Linked DNA regions of Homo sapiens: all the other regions are linked to region 2. The links are contacts of gene promoters, found by promoter capture Hi-C in human tissues and cell types (Jung and others, 2019). All regions are on one chromosome and are shown on one strand. The core of a region is centred on a gene start or on the middle of the fragment in contact, and the rest is flanking DNA. Distances in the headings are between cores, read along the strand shown. Region 1 overlaps TPX2 (TPX2 microtubule nucleation factor). Region 2 holds the start of ID1 (inhibitor of DNA binding 1). Region 3 overlaps TPX2 (TPX2 microtubule nucleation factor).

Evidence for each region. Contacts are between HindIII fragments. The study calls those that stand out against the background at their distance.
Region 1: a contact is called between a fragment that was not itself captured here and the fragment with the promoter of ID1 in region 2, in 1 of the 25 tissues and cell types used here (mesenchymal stem cells).
Region 3: a contact is called between a fragment that was not itself captured here and the fragment with the promoter of ID1 in region 2, in 1 of the 25 tissues and cell types used here (mesenchymal stem cells).

What each region holds. Positions count from the first base shown.
Region 1 is chr20:31,780,297-31,783,200 of GRCh38, reverse strand. It overlaps TPX2 (TPX2 microtubule nucleation factor), which reads right to left. Exons shown (of 18, transcript NM_012112.5): 11 at 811-952. Among named protein-coding and RNA genes, the nearest start is that of MYLK2, 38 kb to the left of the region's middle. The HindIII fragment of the contact is 7,023 bases long and covers 1-2,904 here.
Region 2 is chr20:31,603,720-31,606,643 of GRCh38, reverse strand. ID1 (inhibitor of DNA binding 1) reads right to left here and starts at 1,355. Exons shown (of 2, transcript NM_002165.4): 1 at 831-1,355; 2 at 134-591. The coding sequence starts at 1,256. The coding sequence ends at 550. LOC105372588 (a long non-coding RNA gene) reads left to right here and starts at 1,449. Exons shown (of 2, transcript XR_936669.2): 1 at 1,449-1,541; 2 at 1,699-1,953. RefSeq lists enhancers at 1-201, 248-917, 918-1,588, 1,978-2,157, 1,893-2,731. The HindIII fragment of the contact is 38,824 bases long and covers 1-2,924 here.
Region 3 is chr20:31,757,572-31,760,271 of GRCh38, reverse strand. It overlaps TPX2 (TPX2 microtubule nucleation factor), which reads right to left. Exons shown (of 18, transcript NM_012112.5): 3 at 2,690-2,700; 4 at 93-215. Among named protein-coding and RNA genes, the nearest start is that of TPX2, 20 kb to the right of the region's middle. The HindIII fragment of the contact is 7,137 bases long and covers 1-2,700 here.

The DNA of each region.
Region 1 (2,904 bases), core at 225-2,724, 180 kb before region 2:
ATCCCTACCACTTAAGAATTGAGGCTTCACTTCACAGAAGAAGCTCCCCCTCCTCAAAAGAAGCACAAAAAGGAATGGAAGAAGGATACAGGAAATAAACTCCAATGCTACGAATCACACTAAGTTTCCATTTCCCTCCACTAATAATAGCTGTAACAATCCCTTGGGGAGTCACAAAAGGGTGGGATCTACCTAACTTAACCTTAGAGGGCATTCCTTAATTGAAATCCTAAGTAAGTTCTTCTACTGCAACCTCTGGATTAGATTTTGTGTGTGTGTGTGTGTGTGTGTGTGTGTGTGTGTGTGTGTGTATGTGTGTATGTGCAAGACAGTCTCGCTTTGTCACCCAAGCTGGAGTATATTGGCGTGATCTTGGCTCACTGAAGCATTGACCTCCTGGGTTCAGGCTGCCCCCTAGTAGGTGGGACTACAGACGCATGCCACCATGCCCAGCTAATTTTTTTTTGGTATTTGTTGTAGAGATGGGGTTTCACCATGTTGCCCAGGCTGGTCTCAAACTCCTGGACTCAAGTGATCCTCTTGCCTCGGCCTCCCAAGGTACTGGGATTACAGGTGTGAACCACCACACCCAGCCTGGATTCAATTTTTACCAGTTTATACTCCAGAACATCTCCATATTCCCACTATAGTCCTTAAATCATATAGGCAGGGGCGTAGCCTGCAGAGCCTACTACTCAAATGCCATAAATTTTTACGGAAAGAAAAATAGCAACTGTCACCCTAACAGAACTGAAAATAAAGTAGGCAGGTTCGTGGAACTCTTCCTCAGATACTGCCAGTGGGACTTACTGTTGCAATTTCTCGAGCTCCTCAGCCTCCAGCTCTGCTGTACTTTTGCAGGTCACAGCCCGTGCACGGTGTTTGGTTTGCAGTACAGGAGTCTGTGGGTCTCTGCAAATCTTGGTCACAGAAGATTTGGAGGGTAACAGGTCTGTAAACAGAGATGACAGATGTTCATCTAGATCCGCAAGACCCAGTTTACTTGTAAGTGGTGATTCACCTATGTAGCCCAGAGAGGGATAAACCAACCACAGAGTGGTGGGCCCACAACAGTCAGCTCAGCTTACATTGGTCAAACCAACCAACATTCAGTTACTTCTCCCCTATTCCTCTTTTATTGAGGGGTATGACTAAGGTAGCCTTTGGGTAAACTCTACTGTCATCTTCTGAACTGAAAATCCATCCATGTCTGACAGGTTCCTTATCACTGCACGGGCCTAGACTGACTTTCTTTTTTTTGAGACAGGGTCTCACTCTGTTGCCCAGGCTAGAGTGCAGGGGCATAAAGGCTCACTACAAATCCAACCTCCCTGGACTCAGGTGATCTTCCCACCTCAGCCTCCCAAGCAGCTGGGATTACAGGCATGCACCACCATGCCCAGCTAATTTTTATATTCTTTGTAGAGACAGGGTTTCACTATGTTGCCCAGGCTGGTCTTGAACTACTGGGCTCAAGCAATCCACCCACCTCAGCCTCCCAAAGTGCTGGGATTATAGGCGTTAAGCCACTGTGCCTGGCCAGGCCTATACTTTCTATTGACAATGCCAATTATTTTGCTTGTTATTAACACAAAAAATTTTTGCTTATTCCAGCTTTAAGATATAAGGCCTTCCTGGCCGGTCACAGTGGCTCACGCCTGTAATCCCAGCACTTTGGGAGGCCGAGGCAGGGGGATCACGAGGTCAGGAGATCGAGACCATCCTGGCTAACACGGTGAAATCCCGTCTCTATTAAAAATACAAAAAATTAACCGGGCGTGGTGGCAGGCGCCTGTAGTCTCAGCTACTCGGGAGGCTGAGGCAGGAGAATGGCATGAACCTGGAAGGCGGAGCATGCAGTGAGCCAAGTGAGCCAAATGAGCGCCACTGCACTCTGGCCTAGGCGACAGAGCGAGACTCTGTCTCAAAAAAAAAAAAAAAAAAAAAGATATAAGGCCTTCCTAAAGACCAAGTAAAGCCTGAACAGAATGGCTCAAACCTGTAATTCTAGCAATTTAGAAGGCCAAAGCAGGAGAACTGCTTGAGGCCAGGAGCTCAAGACCAGCCTGGGCAACATAATGAGACCCTGTCTCCTAAGAAAATATAAAAATTAGGTAAGCATGGTGGCATGCACCTATATATAGTCCCAATTACTTGGAAGGCTAAGGCAGGAGGATTGCTTGAGCCCAGGAGTTGGACACTGAAGTGAGCCATGATCACGCCACTGCACTCCAGCCTGGGTGACGGAGCAAGACCCTGTCTCTAAAAAGCAAAACAAGAAGGAAAATAAATAAATAAATAAATAACAAAAGAAGACCAAGTGAAAACTCCCAATTTTATGAAATCAATATAAAAGCATCAAGACCACATCTTACAGAAAATCAAATGGAGAAAGTTAAAAACTATGTTAAAGCATCAATATTAAGACATCACCACCACTCATTGAAAATATTAATTTACCTGGCCAGTGAAACCTTGTCAATTTTCATAACTAATATAGAATGAATCTTTCAATTTAGGTCTTGTCACATAACAGTGGTAGATCAAAACCAAATCTATTTTAGAAATAAGCCATGTTTCAAAGATACATGTAACCATTATTTAGCTGTAACTGTACAAAGTTTTAAATAAAAATTGCATAATATAATTTCTCTTTCCTTTTGCCAGGACTAGTATTCTGAAAGCAGGACATATCAGACTCTGAGTCATATATTATTTGAAAAGTTATGCTTAATATTTAAATTTCCATTAGAATAAAGAAGAATATTTCATTATTTTCATACTATAAAATCTAACAAAATCATTTTGGCCACTAGAACATAATAATAATATTAAAAAATGCTGTACTTGGCCAGGCGCAGTGGCTCACACCTGTAATCACAGCACTTTGGGAGGTTGAGGCGG
Region 2 (2,924 bases), core at 106-2,605:
ATTCAGGCCGGTAAGAGCAACAATCCAGATGTAGCCCTCCAATTCTCCTCCCAGAACCAGCTGTGAAGAGGGTCAGGGGTCAACCCCCAGCCCAGGCCCCTCCCCTCAACCCAAGAAGTCACTACAACTTTACCACCATCTAAATTATTTGTTTAATAACAAAAAAACAGCCCCACAGAACTATTGTAAAACAATATTTTCAGTCGGTGATCATTGTAATATACAATACAAAGCAATTTCCTCAGAAATCTGAGAAGCACCAAACGTGACCATTTTTTAAAATGTCTGCTTTTCAAAAAATAGAAACACACGAGTGGAATCCCACCCCCTAAAGTCTCTGGTGACTAGTAGGTGTGCAGAGAGGAGCGCCCTCTCCTCGCCAGTGCCTCAGCCTCAGCCCCAGGCTGGATGCAGTTAAGGGCGCAGTGGCCGCCGATCGGTCTTGTTCTCCCTCAGATCCGGCGAGGCGCGTTGGGGGAGACCCACAGAGCACGTAATTCCTCTTGCCCCCTGGATGGCTGGGGTCCGCCGGTCCCTGGGGGAGGCGCTTCAGCGACACAAGATGCGATCGTCCGCAGGAACGCATGCCGCCTGTGAAAACGAGAAGAAATGAGACCGGCGGGTTGGAAGGGACGCCGCTCCGAGCGCAGCGAACGCCCCCTTCCCCAGGAAGCACGACGGGGGAGCGCTTTTTCCAGGCTCCTTAGGCACCCCCGCATAGCCAGGTACCCGCAAGGATGGGACGGAAGTGGTGCAAGCGCCCACGCCCTCTCTGGCCTCCGTTTCCCCGTCGGTATAAGGATGATCTAGTGGTCGGATCTGGATCTCACCTCGGCCGTCAGGGCGCTGATCTCGCCGTTGAGGGTGCTGAGCGGAGCCCGGACCGGCAGCCCTCGGCCCCCGGGGGTTCCAACTTCGGATTCCGAGTTCAGCTCCAACTGAAGGTCCCTGATGTAGTCGATGACGTGCTGGAGAATCTCCACCTTGCTCACCTTGCGGTTCTGGGGCAGGGTGGGCACCAGCTCCTTGAGGCGTGAGTAACAGCCGTTCATGTCGTAGAGCAGCACGTTTACCTGCTGCTCGTCCAGCAGGGCAGGCAGGCGCGCCCCGGCGCCCCCGGCGCAGCGCGAGATGGCCACGCTCTGCTCAGACAGACAGCGCACCACCTCGCCCGCACCGCTCGCTGTCTTGCCGGCCTTCAGCGCGCAGCTGGGGCCCGCGGCGGCGGTGGCGGTGCTGCCACTGGCGACTTTCATGATTCTTGGCGACTGGCTGAAACAGAATGGGCAAAGCGAAAAAAATGAGGTGGAAGCCCGAAGCAGATACGGAAAATGGAACAGTTAAGAACGTGGAATGAGAGTGCGGAGCCACAGCTTGTCTTTTATAAACACGCCACGGCCCCCGGAGGGGCGGGCTCAGAACGTTCAAAAGCAGCCAATGGGCGGCATGGGGGCGTGACCCGCGCTCCTAGGTCCAGCCTCCTGCTCGTCTAGTGCCTGCTCGCAGTGTGGAAAGACGACCCGGGTTTCAGAACAGCAAGGGTGGGTCGGTGGCAGGGCACCGGGCAGGGCAGCGGGTAGAGGCGAGGGCCGCACTGGGCTCCTCTGGAAGGAGGCAAGGAAGCTAAGCAGGCATTGCCTTATAATGAAAAGACCTCAGGAATCAGTTTTTCCCATATTCACTTTCTCACTTCTCCAGCTCCATTTCACAGATGAGAGAAATTGAGGCCCGAACGGAGAAGCGGCTGGCTCTGGATAGCCCAGAGAGCCTGGGTTTCCGGACCCTCTTGGAAGATGCTTCTCGGACCCTGATCTACAAATATCAGGACCGAAATTTAAAGCGGGCGCTCCTTTACATCTGCTCCCCTGGGCTTTCTCAATTCCTAAATAATGTTGCTGTTCGTGTTCCTGAGACCCGGAGGGCCTACCCAGATCCCTCCCGGGTGGGAGCAATTAATTCGGGAAAGTCTAGTAAGTTTGGGGCTGGGTGGCTGGGAAGTGAACTAGATAGAGCGCAGTGGAGTGAGGCTGCATTCGATTCCACCTTGAATTTGCAGCTCCTTGCAAAAATTTCCTGAACCTGCAACAGTTCGTGATTTTTTAATGTTTTTTCCCATTTTTGGCTGCTTTTTAAATTTTCTTCTCAAAGACCTCAGAGCAGGGTCTCCCTCCCACGGCGCGGCAGCTGCGGAGCTACAGTCTCCCCCCTCCCTTCCCGGGCCGGTCTGTGTCAGCGTCTGAACCAGCGGCTCAGACCGTTAGACGCCAGGCCTGTGACGTCACCCATTCATAAAACCCGGACGGACTGTCAGGCTGGCGCCGCGCGGGCGGTCGCCATGGAGACGACAAACTGGTCTAGCTAGTTCCCGTGCTCCCCCCAGCCCGTCACCTGCAGACCCCGGGCGGGAGGCCTGGGAATGCGTTTCTTGCGGGCGCGGTCGCTGAGCAAGGGTCACCTTACCTCCCCGCCCCACACCTGCGAGTCTCCCAACCCAGACCCACAGCTTGGGCCGCTTGGGGTTTCTTCACCGCTCCCCCCACCTCTCCGCCCCAGCTACCCCTTCCAGCGTGGGGAAAAAGGCCTGAGTTCTCTTTCCAGCTCTGCAGCTGAGTGAATTCAGGCGGGTCGCATGCCCTCTCTGAGCCCTAATATTTAATATCTGCTTGGTGTTTAAATAATAATCACAAACGTGACCATTATTAATTTCTTACTTTGTACAGCGGGCACTGTATGAAGAGTTTGTCTTGATCATCTTTTTTCATTTATTTCTTATTTTAAAAAATGAAGGGCTGCGCGGTGGCTCACGCCTGTAATCCCAACAATTTGGAAGGCCGAGGCGGGTGGATTGCCTGAGGTCAGGAGTTCGAGACCAGCCTGACCAATATGGTGAAACCCCATCTCTACTAAAAATACAAAAATTAGCC
Region 3 (2,700 bases), core at 22-2,521, 150 kb before region 2:
AGAGCATTTAGGTAATTTTCCCAGAACCTCAGGCTTCTAAAACACTGTCCCACCATTCTATCAAGGAGCTTTTTTCTAAGATGTTTTCTTACCTGGTTTCAAAGGTGTGACAATAGCTTGCTGAAGATTAGCCTTTCTCAAAGGAGTTTTGCCCTGAAAAAGCCCTCCAGTTCCATTCTTCCCCAGTAACTTATTCTCCAAATTGGCCTTCTCCTCTGTGAAAAGGGAAGATCATCATTGTCTGATCAGCAAGGAAGCAAAACAAATCACTATCACGCATTTAAAATGCAAACTAAAGCTCCCTACCAGTACACTTCCAACTCATGTGGCAAGTACAAGCAAAGTTCTAGCAATCAAAAGAAAAAGTACACATTACACATCCGAGATAGACTATAAGAACAATCACTAAAAACTGGCAACATTGAACAATGTATTATAAAAAAGGAAAAGTACAGATTCTGCATTGTGAATAACTCCTTATCTTTGTTTGGTACACATTTAGGGTCATACAAATATGAACTGGCTTTATCTACTCCCTAAATATATCATGTTCCTCTTAAAGAAAACTGTAACCAGCCGGGAGCGATGGCTCACACCTGTAATCCCAGCACTTTGGGAGGCCGAGGCGGGTGGGTCATGAGGTCAGGAGATCGAGACTGTCTTGGCCAACATGGTGAAACCCCGTCTCTACTAAAATACAAAAAATTAGCCAGGCGTGGTGGCACATGCCTTTAATCCCAGCTACTTGAGAAGCTGAGGCAGGGGAATCGCTTGAACCTGGAAGGTGGAATTTGCAGTAAGCTGAGACCGCACCACTGCACTACAGCCTGGCGACAGAGCAAGACTCCATCTCAAAAAAAAAAAAAAAAAAAAAACGAAAGAAAACTGTAACCATCAAAAACTGTAGGGCTTACAAGAGATACTGTATAGTCTTACAGAGTTTCCTCCTCAGTGGGGTGGTGGGAGGAATAAGGGGTGTGTGAGGGTAGAGCAGAGCTAGGTTCTCTCAAGAAATTTTATCTTAGATTCTACTGTGCCCAGAAGTCAGTACAAAGCAGTGAAGGGTCTGTTCTACCAACAGCCTACTGATAGTTTCAGGAATGCAGTGAGACACAGCAATAACTACCCTGTGCATGTACATTCTGATTGCAACTGTGTAGAAAGATGTGACTATTTATTTGGGAAAGAAATTGGAAAGTAATATATTAAAACTGAGGTAGTTTTGTTAGCCAAAAGAACTCTGGCAAAAACAAAAAGAAAAAAAAATAAAAATGTTTTAAAACTAAGGTAGTTTTGGAAAAATAGTGGGGTCATTTTTTTTCTTCCAAATTGTATTTAACAGTATTCTTAGGCTAATCTTTTCTTTTCTTTTTTATTTTAAAGAAAAGCTTAGAAAAAGAAATCCTCAGACAGCCCAGCCATTTCCTTACAGTTCCAGTGAAGCAAGGGCATGGGGAAGATCCCCGCAGGACAGCTGGCCCTTGTATTTATTTACCCTTCCTCCCACACCACTTCCAACAGACGACTCCTCTCAGGATCCCCACTAGATGCCATTAAAGTCCTTTTCCAAAAAATGGCACCTGTCAACACATTTGGACAGTGCACTATACGGATAAGTACAGCTGCAATGGACTCACTTCTGTTCCCCACCACATATTCATAGTGATTTCTCCCGATAAGGAGGATGGAGACATGAGAGAAAGAATCAAAGGGGCCTCAACAACTAGTCTCAGATATTATTTCAAAGTAATGTAAAAATGTAACCACATTCTTACTTACCATTGGCCAAGCAATACTGTTTCTGGGAATGGGTTCTTAGTAGCATAATCCTTCCATTTAAAAATGAATTGAGGGCCAGGCGCAGTGGCTCACGCCTGTAATCCCAGCACTTTGGGAGGCTGAGGTGGGTGGATCACCTGAGGTCAGGGGTTCAAGACTAGCCTGGCCAACATGGCAAAACACTGTCTCTACTAAAAATACAAAAATTAGTTAGGCATGCTGGTGGGCGCCTGTAATCCCAGCTACTTGGGCGGCTGAGGCAGAACCGCTTGAACAAGAGTGGCGGAGGTTACAGTGAGCTGAGATTGTACCACTGCACTCCAGCCTGGGCAACAGAGCGAGACTACAGCCTCAAAAAAAAAAAAAAAAAAAATGAATTGAGGGAGGGGTGGCAGGAGGGAGGTGAGGGTAATTATAAAAGATCTTGACTGTGATGGTAGACACATAAACCAACACAGGTGATAAAACCACAGAGAACTTAATACACATACAAGTAAAACTGGAGAAATCTGAGTAAAACTGGTAGATTGTATGAATGTCAATATCCTAGCTGTGATATAATCTATCCCTAATGATAGTAGACAAAGTTTTTATGTGGCTGCCATCACTACAGACATATTTGAGCATGGAGTTTTGTTGAACACTGGTTCATCTGAACTTTCCCATAGGTCCCTAAAGCTTAAATCTGCCATTCTGAACTACAAAACAACATATGCTTTGTACTTACAATCCATTCCCCAAATACTGGGCATTTCAATTATTCCCATAATATCATGGATGACAGAATGTCTTGGTGCAGAAAGAAGTTGATATTTTAGTTCTTTTCTTGCAACCCCTTCTATTATTGAAAGGTCTTCAGCACAAAGCAAGCCACTAATCCTTAAAATAGCCAGAGAAAGCAGGCACTTACCAAACCATGAA